Linked DNA regions of Homo sapiens: region 1 is linked to region 2. Evidence: promoter capture Hi-C in 16 types of primary human blood cells and fetal thymus (Javierre and others, 2016). All regions are on one chromosome and are shown on one strand. The core of a region is centred on a gene start or on the middle of the fragment in contact, and the rest is flanking DNA. Distances in the headings are between cores, read along the strand shown. Region 1 overlaps PLCB4 (phospholipase C beta 4). Region 2 holds the start of TMX4 (thioredoxin related transmembrane protein 4).

What was found. Contacts are between HindIII fragments. The CHiCAGO score rates a contact against its expected background, and 5 or more counts as called.
Region 1: a fragment that was not itself captured here is called in contact with the fragment with the promoter of TMX4 in region 2 in 1 of 17 cell types (monocytes); the score reaches 5.2 in monocytes.

What each region holds. Positions count from the first base shown.
Region 1 is chr20:9,399,414-9,405,201 of GRCh38, forward strand. It overlaps PLCB4 (phospholipase C beta 4), which reads left to right. Exons shown (of 40, transcript NM_001377142.1): 20 at 2,077-2,177. Among named protein-coding and RNA genes, the nearest start is that of LAMP5, 110 kb to the right of the region's middle. The HindIII fragment of the contact is 8,869 bases long and covers 1-5,788 here.
Region 2 is chr20:8,017,154-8,023,069 of GRCh38, forward strand. It overlaps TMX4 (thioredoxin related transmembrane protein 4), which reads right to left and starts at 2,608. Exons shown (of 8, transcript NM_021156.4): 1 at 2,285-2,608. The coding sequence starts at 2,460. TMX4-AS1 (TMX4 antisense RNA 1) reads left to right here and starts at 2,753. Exons shown (of 7, transcript NR_184034.1): 1 at 2,753-2,951; 2 at 3,238-4,108; 3 at 4,906-5,002; 4 at 5,228-5,296; 5 at 5,404-5,614. RefSeq lists silencers at 2,119-2,258, 2,369-2,608. The HindIII fragment of the contact is 3,626 bases long and covers 1-3,315 here.

The DNA.
Region 1 (5,788 bases), core at 2,606-5,105, 1.4 Mb after region 2:
TACTATCTATGTGTGGCTAGAGTCTCTAATTTAAATACATCAACACAGCAGGCAAGGGGAAACCAAGCATAGTTCAATAGGGGAGGCCTGCCTGGAGGCTGTAGAAAATAGAAAAGGCTTTCAGTCAGTGAAAGCAGGTGCCCAGGCATTAGGCTGGATTTAGATTCAGAAGGACATGTGGCTCCCAGGATAGGAGACAAGTAGTGGAGAATATCAAAATTGTATGTGGTTATAGGTGTGTCTGTGCATATCTGCACACTCAGAAAGTGATCATGTATTCATACAATTCTCTTAAGGTGGTTAGTAAGTCTCCACCACTTGTTTGGGGTATGCCCCTTGCCTTCAAGTGGTTTACATCTGTATTGGCAGTTTAGACATAAATTAAATTAAATGAAATGAAATTAATAAATTAAATGAAAATTTAATAGTGACATGAGAAGTTTTGAAATCTTGGTTACTGACTGTAGGTCATGGAAACCTAGTCCTGGAAGAACTATGTTAAGAATTCAAGAGACAGGTAGATCCATTATCTTGCTGTGTGATTTCAGACAAGTCAAATCATATCTCTGCATCTAGTTCCTCGTTTATAAGTAAAGACAGATGCTGGATTAGATTATTTTAAGATGTATTCCATTTCCTCAAATCCTTTTCTTCCTGCCTAAGCCTTACAATTACCCACTTGTTGTTGTTGTTGTTGTTTGGATTTTGTTTTTTTAATCGTCTGCCTCTAGAATATCCCTTCATCAGAATTGTTAGCTCCAGAAGAGGAAGGTGGCTGTTTCTTTCCCTCACCCTCCTCCTGTGCCTGGAGAGATACTTCACAAAATAAAACAGTCTATCTAGAAATTCTGAATCCAGATACTACCAGTTGAAAGATACCACTGTTTTATTATGACTAAGAAAGAAAAAGTAGTTTCCATTCACTGGAAAAAACCGTCAGTTGAAGAACACACTGCAATATCAGAAATATTAAATCAAAAAAAGTACATCTTAGAATCAGTGAAATCATTTTTCATTTACTCCTGTTCTTTCATTCTCCTTTGTACTTTTAAACATGCTTTAAAAAAATCTATCTCATTCTTATGGGTCTACTCATTTCCTTTCTGAATTTCTCAGAAATTATTTTAGTGGGTTTTTTTGTTTTGTTTTTACAGTAACGTTCCCTCATGCCCTGTGGTGTGACCATGTGGATTTATATTGTCCTCATCCTGATGTCTGTGGGTTTCTCCTGATCCTGGCTAGATTTTAGGCAAATTCTTTATCTGGGAATTACTGCAAATAGTGATTGTGTGAATCCAAATCTCACCTCAGCATGTTGCACATTTTCCAGCAGGTACTTCTTTTTTTTCCCCACGAACATCCTGGGTGGATTCTGGCATTCTTGTCACTTTCCTGGACCAATGAACACAGTGTGTGTACTTCCTTTCACAGACTAGACCACGCTCCAGGGACACCAGCTTTATTTGGCACCCACTTCCACTTCTCCTCCTACCTGAGCCTGACAAATGAGCCCTGAGCCTTTGAAACCTATGCTAGGTTTGACAAATAGTTTGCAGGAGTAGCACAATCCTTCTGAGGCCTTTCTTTTTTCTACCACTCCAAGCTATAAGTCATTATGCCCATAAAATTCAAGTGGACATTTTAGTCTCTTTCAAAATTATCCGATGTATTTGTTTTCTTGCATCTTCTTATTTGCTCTTGATGTCATGAAAGATCAAAACACCTTTTTATGAGTTATAGATATTCCTGCAGTGTTTGAGGCTTTCATTTTTAGAATTAGTATACTAGAATAGAAGTAGCCATCCACTTAAAAAAAATTTATTAAGCATCAAGCATTTCAAACCACATTTTAGGAGCAGGAGAAATAATACATAACAAGATGTGCTCCTTGACGTTGAATAGGTAAGAGTTTAGTGAGAGTTTTACTTGAAAAAATACTGCATATATCAATGTCCCCATTTTCTTTTAGCATCCTTTTTCTCTAAAAGTGCTTATGTTCTACCCAAGATTGTGAACAAGGTCTGACTACTTGGCAGTGGTTTGGTGTCATGGATTTTCCATTTGTCTTTCACACAGCTGACCAAGAGGAGGAAGCTCACCCCGAATTCAAATTTGGAAATGAACTTTCTGCTGATGACTTGGGTCACAAGGAAGCTGTTGCAAATAGCGTCAAGAAGGTCAGAGTCCCCTTTCTTTCATCACTCTCAAGAGGTAGCAGCTGTTATTTATGAAATTTTGGAAATGTGAGAACCACAAGAGAATAAAGTAACCTATAATTCCCCTTCTAAATTGCTTAGGATACGAGTCTGTGCTGGGTGACCAGAACTTGACACATACACAATATTAAATTTAAAAGGACATTTAAATTACTCATTAGTCAGGGCCAGTGTTAACCACTACCCATTTGGCCAGTGTCCTCTAAATATTATCATTTATTGTGTTATTGCAGCTGGGGAGGGAGAAAATGACAGCATCCCAGGGGTAAGATTTAATCTTGAATTCATCAGGAAAATGACCCCTGAACATCCCGAGTCTAGCCCTCATTTGAGAACTAGTCCTGCTAATTATATACCTTCCCCCTAAAGTACAGTAAGCATAAAAATGTTTCCAGATATTCAGCCAAGGAAAATAGTTATTCATATACTTACCTTTTGTCAGGCATAGTCTAGGCCATAATGACCTAAAAGTGTAAAACACACTTGCCTTCTGCCCTTAGGCAGCTCATGGCCCCCTGTAGTTTAGGGAAAGGGATCGGAAACAGCAAACAAGCAAGTAGTCAAATAACTATATAATTACAACTTACGGTGAGTGCAATTATGAACATAAACACGCATGCTGAAGAATAATGAAGTAGAAAGAATAAGGAAACCAGAACGCAAAGGGTCAAGAGGAATTGGCCATGCACAGAGGTTGATGAATCACTTTCCATGCGGAGGGACCACAGTAACAACAGCAAGGGCTGTGAGTAGAGTGGCTTGAGTGAGGGTGGAGTGAGACGAGATGAGGCAGGTAGGTGGGAACTGGGTGATGTAGGATTTTGGAGGCCATTATGAGAAATTCAAATATTCAGTGAAATGTGACACTACTGAAAAAGTTTAGAGAAGGGGGCAGTGTAGCCTGATTCAAGTTTTAAAAGATTGCTGTGGTTGCCATATGGAGACTAGTTTAGGAGGAAACAGGAGTGGAAGCAGGAAAAGCAGTGAGGACAGGCTGCTGCTCTAGGCCAGACGAGAGTCCCCGATGGTCAAACCAGACAATGCATCAGAGAGGACTGAGTGGCTTCAAGACATATTGAGAAATGGGACAGCCTACTGATGGATGGAATGTGGGAATGAGAGAGAAAGAAGAAGTGAGATGACCCTCTAGTGTCCTTGTTTGAGGAACTGGGTAGGTGATGGTACCATTTACTGGCATGGGGAAGACCGAAAGAGAAAGAATTCAGGAGTTTCAAATGGGATGACTATTTGAGATGCCTGTGAAGTATTCAAGGGGAGGTGTTCATATAGCATTGCCATCTGACTCTTTCTCTGGGTTCATTTCCTAACTGTCTAACTTTGGGTAAGTTACTTAACCTCTGTGTACCTTAGTTTCCTCATCTGCAAAGTGAAGACGATAACACCTATTTCATGGGGTCACTGTGAAGAGTGGATGGTTTGTGACATGTCAAGAGCTTAGCGTGGTGCCTGGTACATGGTAACTCCTGTAAAGGTATTAGTTGCTGGTATATTATCATCCTTTTCATCTTTATCATTGTCATTATCCTCATGATCACTGGCGTCATTATCACGCGTATATAGAAGACAGGTTGAGCTAGAGATACAAGTTGGGAGTTCAAAAGATCGTATTTGAAACAATGGAAATACTGAGATGATTCACAAGGAAAGGTGGAAAAGAAGGCCCAAGTGGAGCCCTAGTTAAAAGTGGAGCCAGAAAAGAAGAGCAAGGTATGGCTAGAGAAGTAGGAGGGAAATTAGGCAGTGACACCAAGAAAACCAGGAAAGAGAACAGTGTTAACAGAAGGACTGAGTGGTTGACTGTAGAATATGTTAAAAATCTTAGACAAATTAAATTTAACAGAGTTTAGTTGAGCAAAAAAAACAATTCCCAAATTGGGCAGGACCCAAACCAGAAGAGGTTCAGAGAAACTCCAGTGCAGCCATGTGGTGGAAGATTTTTTGGCAGAAAAAGGAAAGTGACCTACAGAAAACAGAAGTGAGGTACAGAAGCAGCTGTATTGGTTACAGGCTTATTTGCCTTATTTGAACAGAGGTTGAATAGTTGGCCACCTTTGATTGGCTGAAACTCAGTGATTGGCACATGAGTAGGTTCCAGTCTGTTTACACACCCATTCAGTCTACAGTTTACTATGTGAAAGTTTATGAAAAAACCTTTAGAATAGGTAAAGAGACACCTTTAGGCTAAACTTAATTTAACAAATGCTACTGACTGATTAAGTAAGAAGACTCAAGAGTGTCCTTTGGGTTGTTAGCATGGAGGTCGTTGGCAACCTTAAAGAGACATTTCAGTGGAGTGCCAGGCAGGGTGGTGACACTGGATCACACAGATATGAATGACTAGAGACTATGCTTTTGAGAAGTTTTGATGTGAAGGGGAGCAAGAAATGGACTGGTGGCCAAGGGCACCTGAGGAGTCAAGGGAGTGTTTTCTTTTTCGGATGAATGAATCTGGAGTGTGTTTGAAAACTTGGAAGTGGTGCAGTAGAGAGGAAGAGATTAGTTTTGCAGGAAAGAGAGGGGATAACTGCCTGGAATTCCTTGAGGAGGTGGAAGAGGGTGGGATTGCTGTGGTGCAAAGGTGTGGCCCTTCACAGGAGCAGGAACACCTGATTAGTGAAGACAGTGGATGAAGATGCAGGTAGGCAGATACATTTGGTGATAGGAAGAGGGGAGAGTATTTGTCTGATGAGCAAAGCCAAAGGAATATTGCCTTTACACACTATCTTTTCTGATATAGGGAATTGTGACTACTCTGAGAATATTGAACATCTATTAAGACTCAAGAGTATTGTTTTAATACAAAAATTAGCCAGGCGCCATGGTACGCGCCTGTAATCCCAGCTACTCAGGAAGCTGAGGCAGGAGAACTGCTTGAACCCAAAAGGCGGAGGTTGCAGTGAGCCAAGATTGTGCCACTGCACTCCAGCCTGGGCAACAGAGCAAGACTGTGTCTCAAAAAAAAAAAAAAAAAAAAAGTTGCTAAAGCCTTCATCAATATTGTCTTAGTGTCTTAGTCAGTTGGTGCTGCTATCACAAAAATACCATTGGCTTAAACAACTGAAAACTATTTGTCACCATTCTAGAGTCTAAGAAGTCTAAGATCAAGGTTCCACGCAATCAGTTCCTAATGTGGGGGGCCTTCTTCGTGTTTATGTCCTCATGTGGTGGACAGAGAATAAGGAGGCAAGCTCTCTCTTGGCTTGGCCCTCATGACCAAATTACCTCCCAAAGGCCCCATCTTCAAATGCCATCACATGAGAATTAAGGTTTCAGTATATGAATTGGGGACAGTATGGGGGGCTGCACCAGCAAACAGTCCATAACAAATACCCAGACATGAATGCTGAGTTACTCAAGAGTGACCATTCATGCTGCTTTTCCTAAGCCCCATGACTAAAGCACTAATTAAATAATTATAATAAAACATCTAAGTAGGTAAAGACTGTCCACGAAGGAGGGAAAGAGCATTAAGATTAGCCCTTCTGGTGCATAAAACAGTGAGGCCATCCATGGCTTTTTGTCATCAGTAATGTCCCACCTTAGCAAATAAA
Region 2 (5,916 bases), core at 1,358-3,857:
AGATCACAAATAGATAAGAACCAAAATATTTCTTCAGGATGAGCACTTGGGTTTTAGTGCGTATAAAGAAGTTGGATGGAATGGTTTGGATCAATTTTCATTGACAGCCTTGCTTCCTAGCCACCTATTCTGAAGTGCACTCGATAAAAAGAGAATGTCTACTAAAATGACCTTGTGTCTACACAGCTTACTTCCAGATTACAAGACTCATCTGGCATCACAGGCCAAGCATATTCCATACAACTGGACACATGACAAACTCAGAGCAATTGATTACTATGTTTAGGTTTATACATTCATAAAAAAGTAAAATTTGAACCATCAACATGGCCAAGCACAGATGTTGTTGGCTCTCCCTCAAAAACTTATTGAGGCTTTAGTGTTCTTAATTCTATTACCAAAAAAAAAGCAATTCCAAAAGGAACCATAGAGGAGTTGAAGTCATTAAAAATGAGGAGGCCTTTCTGTTTTAACTTTTCTTACATACATATGCAAACTCAGTTTTACCCTGAAAGATGACATCTAGGAAAAAGTCCATTTTGTAAGCACCTACTGAAAAGAGAACTTTCTGTAGTATTGGCTGACAAAATGCAGTTTATCCCAAACTCTTAAAATTATTACAAACATGGAAGTCTTAACACAGCTCCACTTATTTTAAAAGTTTCTCAAATAGAATATGACCCCCTCACCTTCTTCCAAAAATAGTTAAGTGGAATATTTTAATAATTCATGTCTACAGTTCCCTTTAATAATTTCATTGATTTATTATGATACCAAGGGTATTTCATTTGGAGGTCTAAAATATCCCCTTCTTTGTGACTAAGAGGTAAATGCACATTTGAAGGGGTGATATGCCTTATGTTCTTCGAGCAATGTAATCTGCTGTGTGACATAAATTTTGGCTCTGATCTCACACTGAGGTTTTCACTCCATAGGCACCTGCTTGCAATTTAAATTGAAAGAATCAAAACTTGGTCTTGGATAAAGGAAAGATCCAATTTTCTGTCTGTGTCCTCAACGTAAAACAAAGATTCAATAGTAGTATACAGATTGCCAGAAACCACAGGCTAAAGAGATGTGGCAATTTCCTGAAAGATTTTATGTTTGGGGGGTGGGGGCGGGAGGGGGGCAGGTAGGGTGGAAAGGAGTTGTGGGAGGGGAGAGAGAGACAGAGAGAGAGAGAGAGAGAGAGGAGGGAGAGAGAGAGAGAGAGAGGAGAGAGAGGAGAGAGAGAGAGAGGGAGGGAGGGAGGGAGAGAGAGAGAGAGAGAAGAGAGAGAGGAGAGAGAGAGAGAGGGGGAGGGAGGGAGGGAGGGAGGGAGGGAGGGGGAGAGAGAGAGAGAGAGAGAGAGAGAGAGAGAGAGAGAGAGAGAGAGTCTGCAAGCCCACCATGATGGTCTCTCAAGCCCGCTCAGACATCTGCCCACCATCCACTGCAAGCCTCTTTCAAATGGTCACTTCCTATTATAAGGTTAAACTATAATCAACAAATCCCTTTCTTTCTCCTAACTCAAAACTGTAGTTTCCCATCTCCTTAAAGAAAAGGCACTATCCACCATTTGCTTTCTATTGTTAAAAGGGGCAATGCGTATCTTCTTTTCTTTATGGCACAATTATTAATATTACTCAGAAAGTCCTACCTTTACAAGTTATAATAAGTATCAACATTTATTTGAAATCATACTGTAAAATTTAAAAGGCATCCATATTTATGTTTTATTCTCACAATGACATCTCCAGGTCTTCAAACGGAAGACTACGACACAAATGGCCTGCCTTCACCGTGCTGCAATTTCTTCAACAGGTAACTTGCTTAGCCTGTGCTACGTATTCATACTGCACGTGGATGTCACTGAATGTCCTTTCTCTTCCAATACATATCTGTATCTAAAAGCACACGGTTTGCTTGCAGATTTTCTTCCTTCCCTTCTCCTCCCTATGGGAAGCTGCCCACTCCACCCCGAAAACACTGTCCCCCAAAGCAAGGGGACGCGCTGCACCCTCGGCTGTCACCGCGAGGGCTCGGCGCGCATGCGCGGCGCGAGCGGCCGGGCCCCACAGCCGCAGGTCGTTGGTAAGGCGGGTCCGCGGACCCCAGGTCGAGCCCAGCGGCAGTGCAGGATCGCAAGCGGCCCGGCACCGGCGCCGCAGGTTGTTGGCAAGCCTGGTCCGGGGTTTTAGGTTGAGCCCAAGCGGCAATGCGGGATCGCCACCGGGCCGCGCGGGCTTGGGAGGGTGACGCCCGCGAGGACACTGCGGCGTCCGGGGCGGGCGGGCACACTCACAATTTCAGCATCCACTCGCCCTCCATCACCAGCGTCCAGTTGGAGGCGGTCATGGGCTGGACCCGGCTCTGCTCCGGCGGCAGCGCGGCCTCCTCGGGGCCTGCCGTCGCCGCCACAGCCGCGATCCAGGCGGCCAGGAGCGCCGTTAGCTGCGGGCCGCAGCGCCCACCCGCCATGTTGGGCGCCGAGCGAGGCTTCTCGGCGGGGAGTGTGGGGAAGGGCAGCGGCCGGCCCGCAGCCTCGCTCGCCCGCCGGGTTTTTCAAGGAAGCGGGAGACGCAAGGGCCACCCCGCCTACGCCTAGCGGCGCAGACTGGCGGTGCTCGCAATGCCGCGGAGGACGCCACCTCTTATCGCCGCTTGCCCGTCGAGGCCACGCCCCCTCCCGCCTCCACTTGCCGTTGCCCGGGGTGTCGGTTACCTCAGCAACCACCGCCCTTTCTTCCTGACCGCCAAGCTGACAATAAACAGATGACCCAACGTTGCCTAAGTTAGAACATGCACCGCTGCTGCCCAGGCTCCAATAAGGGCAGGGTTGGCGCGTGTGGGCTTCTCTAAAGGGAAACATGGCCAGTAATTTTAAAATCCATCCCCTCTTCAATGATAGCAAATATAAAAGCAACGGGCTGCAAGGTACACGTATGTTTAATGAAAAATGGAGGGACGTGGTGAGTATCTCCTGCTGAAGAGAGAGGAAAATTTAAGTACTCTGCATGTGTATATTGAAGCATCACTAATTTAGGATATTGATGAAACTAGCCTATGCAATTGCATTTTTTTTACAAAAAATGTTAATTTCATAGAAACTCTTAAAAACATGGGTACTAGCCGATAAAATGAGTCAATTAAGACTATTGCCACCTGCAGTAAAATGGACCTCACATTTCTCTTGACTACAGTTTTGTCAGATCTAAAATGAGGGTAGCCTTAAGTGATTTCCAAATTTCTTTCCAGGTCACATTAGATGAATCTGTACCTTGGGACCACCACACCGTTAATATATAAGACTGGATTACAATTAAAGGATGAGGAAGCTTTCTCAAAGGGTGCTTTGTATGTGTTTACTAGTTGTGCAAACCATGAACCTCGGTAATGTGGTTAATAGACCATGAAAAGGATGTGGTTTCTGCCCTCGGCTTAAAACAAAGACAGCAATAAGACTAAAAGTACTTCAGGGCACATGAGAGCAAATTTCAATCAATACTTATAGGAGAGGGAAGTTAATTTTGCCTGAAGAGAAGATCTGGCCTGCATTATGCATTAATTAGTATTAGCTAAAAACTATGTGGACCTAGCCCTTATCATTAAAATAAAACACTCAAGGGTTTACAAACTATTGAAATTTAAGAAAATGTCTTTGCAATGAATGCTACTAAGACTCACTGTTATTAAGTACATACATATCAATTCCATAAACTCAATGGAAAACATTTTACTGTGCTTGTAAAAAGAAGTGACTCATAAACAGGAATTCTGTCATTTTATCACTTTCATGATAGAATGATGTGTAGAATTTGTTTTACAATGCTCCAGAAATAAAATGTAGGGAATGGAAAGAAGATAGGTGAAAGAAAAGTGGTGCAACATCAGTCAGTGTTGAAGCTAAGTTCATTTTGCTACTTTACCTACTCATGCATATGTTGGAAAATTTACAAAATGAAAAGCTAAAAGGAGAGAGAGCATCTTCAGCATGAAAGACAGCCATTACCAAAGCATTTCCTATCTTTAACAAAAACTGAAGTCTTAGCCTTCAGACTAAGGATGGTAGGAAGAAAGTAGCAAGGAAGTATGGGACTGACCTTGCCGTAAGGAGTCACAGACCAGGGTAAGGGACCTGTTGCTGTCAGACCATGATTGGCATCTTAGCCCTGACACTTCCTAGCCATGTGATTTGGGGCTAAAACTAGTCCACACCAAAGTTCTCTTAAAATGCGGGTAGTAATAGAACCTGCTCCAAAAGGTGGCTGTGAAGATTATATGAGATAAGAATAATGCCTAGCACATATTCTAACTCAAAAAGCTTACATATTAGGTTGGTGCAAACATAATTGTGGTTTTTGCCACAATATTGCCAACACTAATATTATTATTTGGAGGCAACAATACGCTGTAATGTCTATTTTTCTTATACTAAAGTTAACTTCACTTAGCATGATACACAATGCCTCTCACAGCCCAGCTTCAGTTTTGCCCACTTTACATTCCACTATTCCCAGAGTTCCCTGTGTCCTAGTAACACAAAGCTACTCCCCATTCCCAAAGCACATTGTGTACTTCAGTGTCTCCTTGCTCCTTCATTCTGATTAGAACACTCTTCTCCAGTTGTCCAGTGAATCATTCAGTCTCTGTCATGTAGTCCACACTGTACCTCTGATAGCTCATGCAGAATGAGCTGCTGTCTCTTCTCAGATCCAATTGCTCTTCTGTATAACTGATATGGTTTGGCTCTGTGTCCCCATCCAAATCACATTTTGTAGCTCCCCTAATTCCCACGTGTTGTGGGAGGGACCCCATGGGAGATAATTGAATCATGGGGGCGGGTCTTTCCCATGTTGTTCTCGTGATAGTGAATAAGTCTCATGAGATCTGATGGTTTTAAAAATGGTAATTTCCCTGCACAAGCTGTCTCTCTTTTGGCCTGCTGCCATCCGCGTAAGACATGACTTACTCCTCCGTGCCTTCCACCATGATTGTGAGGCTTCCCCAGCCATGAGGAACTGTGAGTTGAATAAACACTTTTTCCTGTATAAATTACCCCGTCTCGGGTATGTCTTTATCAGCAGCGTGAAAATGGACTAATACAATAACTTCACCACATACCTTTCATAGTATAATGCATTTATATGTAGCTATCACCCTCTACCCTCACTCCTCCAACCACTACTAAAAACTCTTCAAGGTCAAGGGCTTTACCTTATATATCTTTGTGTCCCCTGTATTGCAGAATACCCATCCCATAGATGTACTTGGGATAGACAGCTTCTGGCACTCCTCCCAAGATCTCTCCCTCCTGGTATTCAGGCCCTTGTGTGATCCTTTCCTCTTGAGTGTGGGTTGGGCCTGGTGACCCACTTCTAACAGAAGATGGGAAAACTGATGGATTATCACTTCTTTGTTAAGGTTACAAAAACCTGAGACTTCCATTTTGCTGGAAACTTCTTTTCCTCTTGCACACTCACTCTGCGACTCTGTGTGGAGAGCTCCATGTGACAAGGGAGGTCTGCAGCCTAAGCAACTGAGACCTCAGCCCAACAGCCCTCAAAGAACTGGATCTTCAAACAACCACATGAGTGACCTAGAAGCAAATCTGTCACCAGTGCTCTTGAGACGGGTGAGCCTTATAAATGACCCAGAACCAGGGGGCAAAGCTTAGCTTAGCTGGGACCTCCACCCACGGAAACTGTGAGGTAATCAATGTTGTTACATAATATCAAGCCACTAAGATTTGGGGCAATTTGTTATGCTGTAATGCTATGCTAGGTCAGTGTGTGATCCATGTTTATGTTTAAAACGTGGATTTACAGGTTTAAGAAGATTGGTACCTGGTACTAGGAGAAAAGGCTTTTTCCCCCAGAGTGATGGTGGCACTGCAGGGCAGCTATGATTACACAAAAATATGTGGTTCCTAGTAGG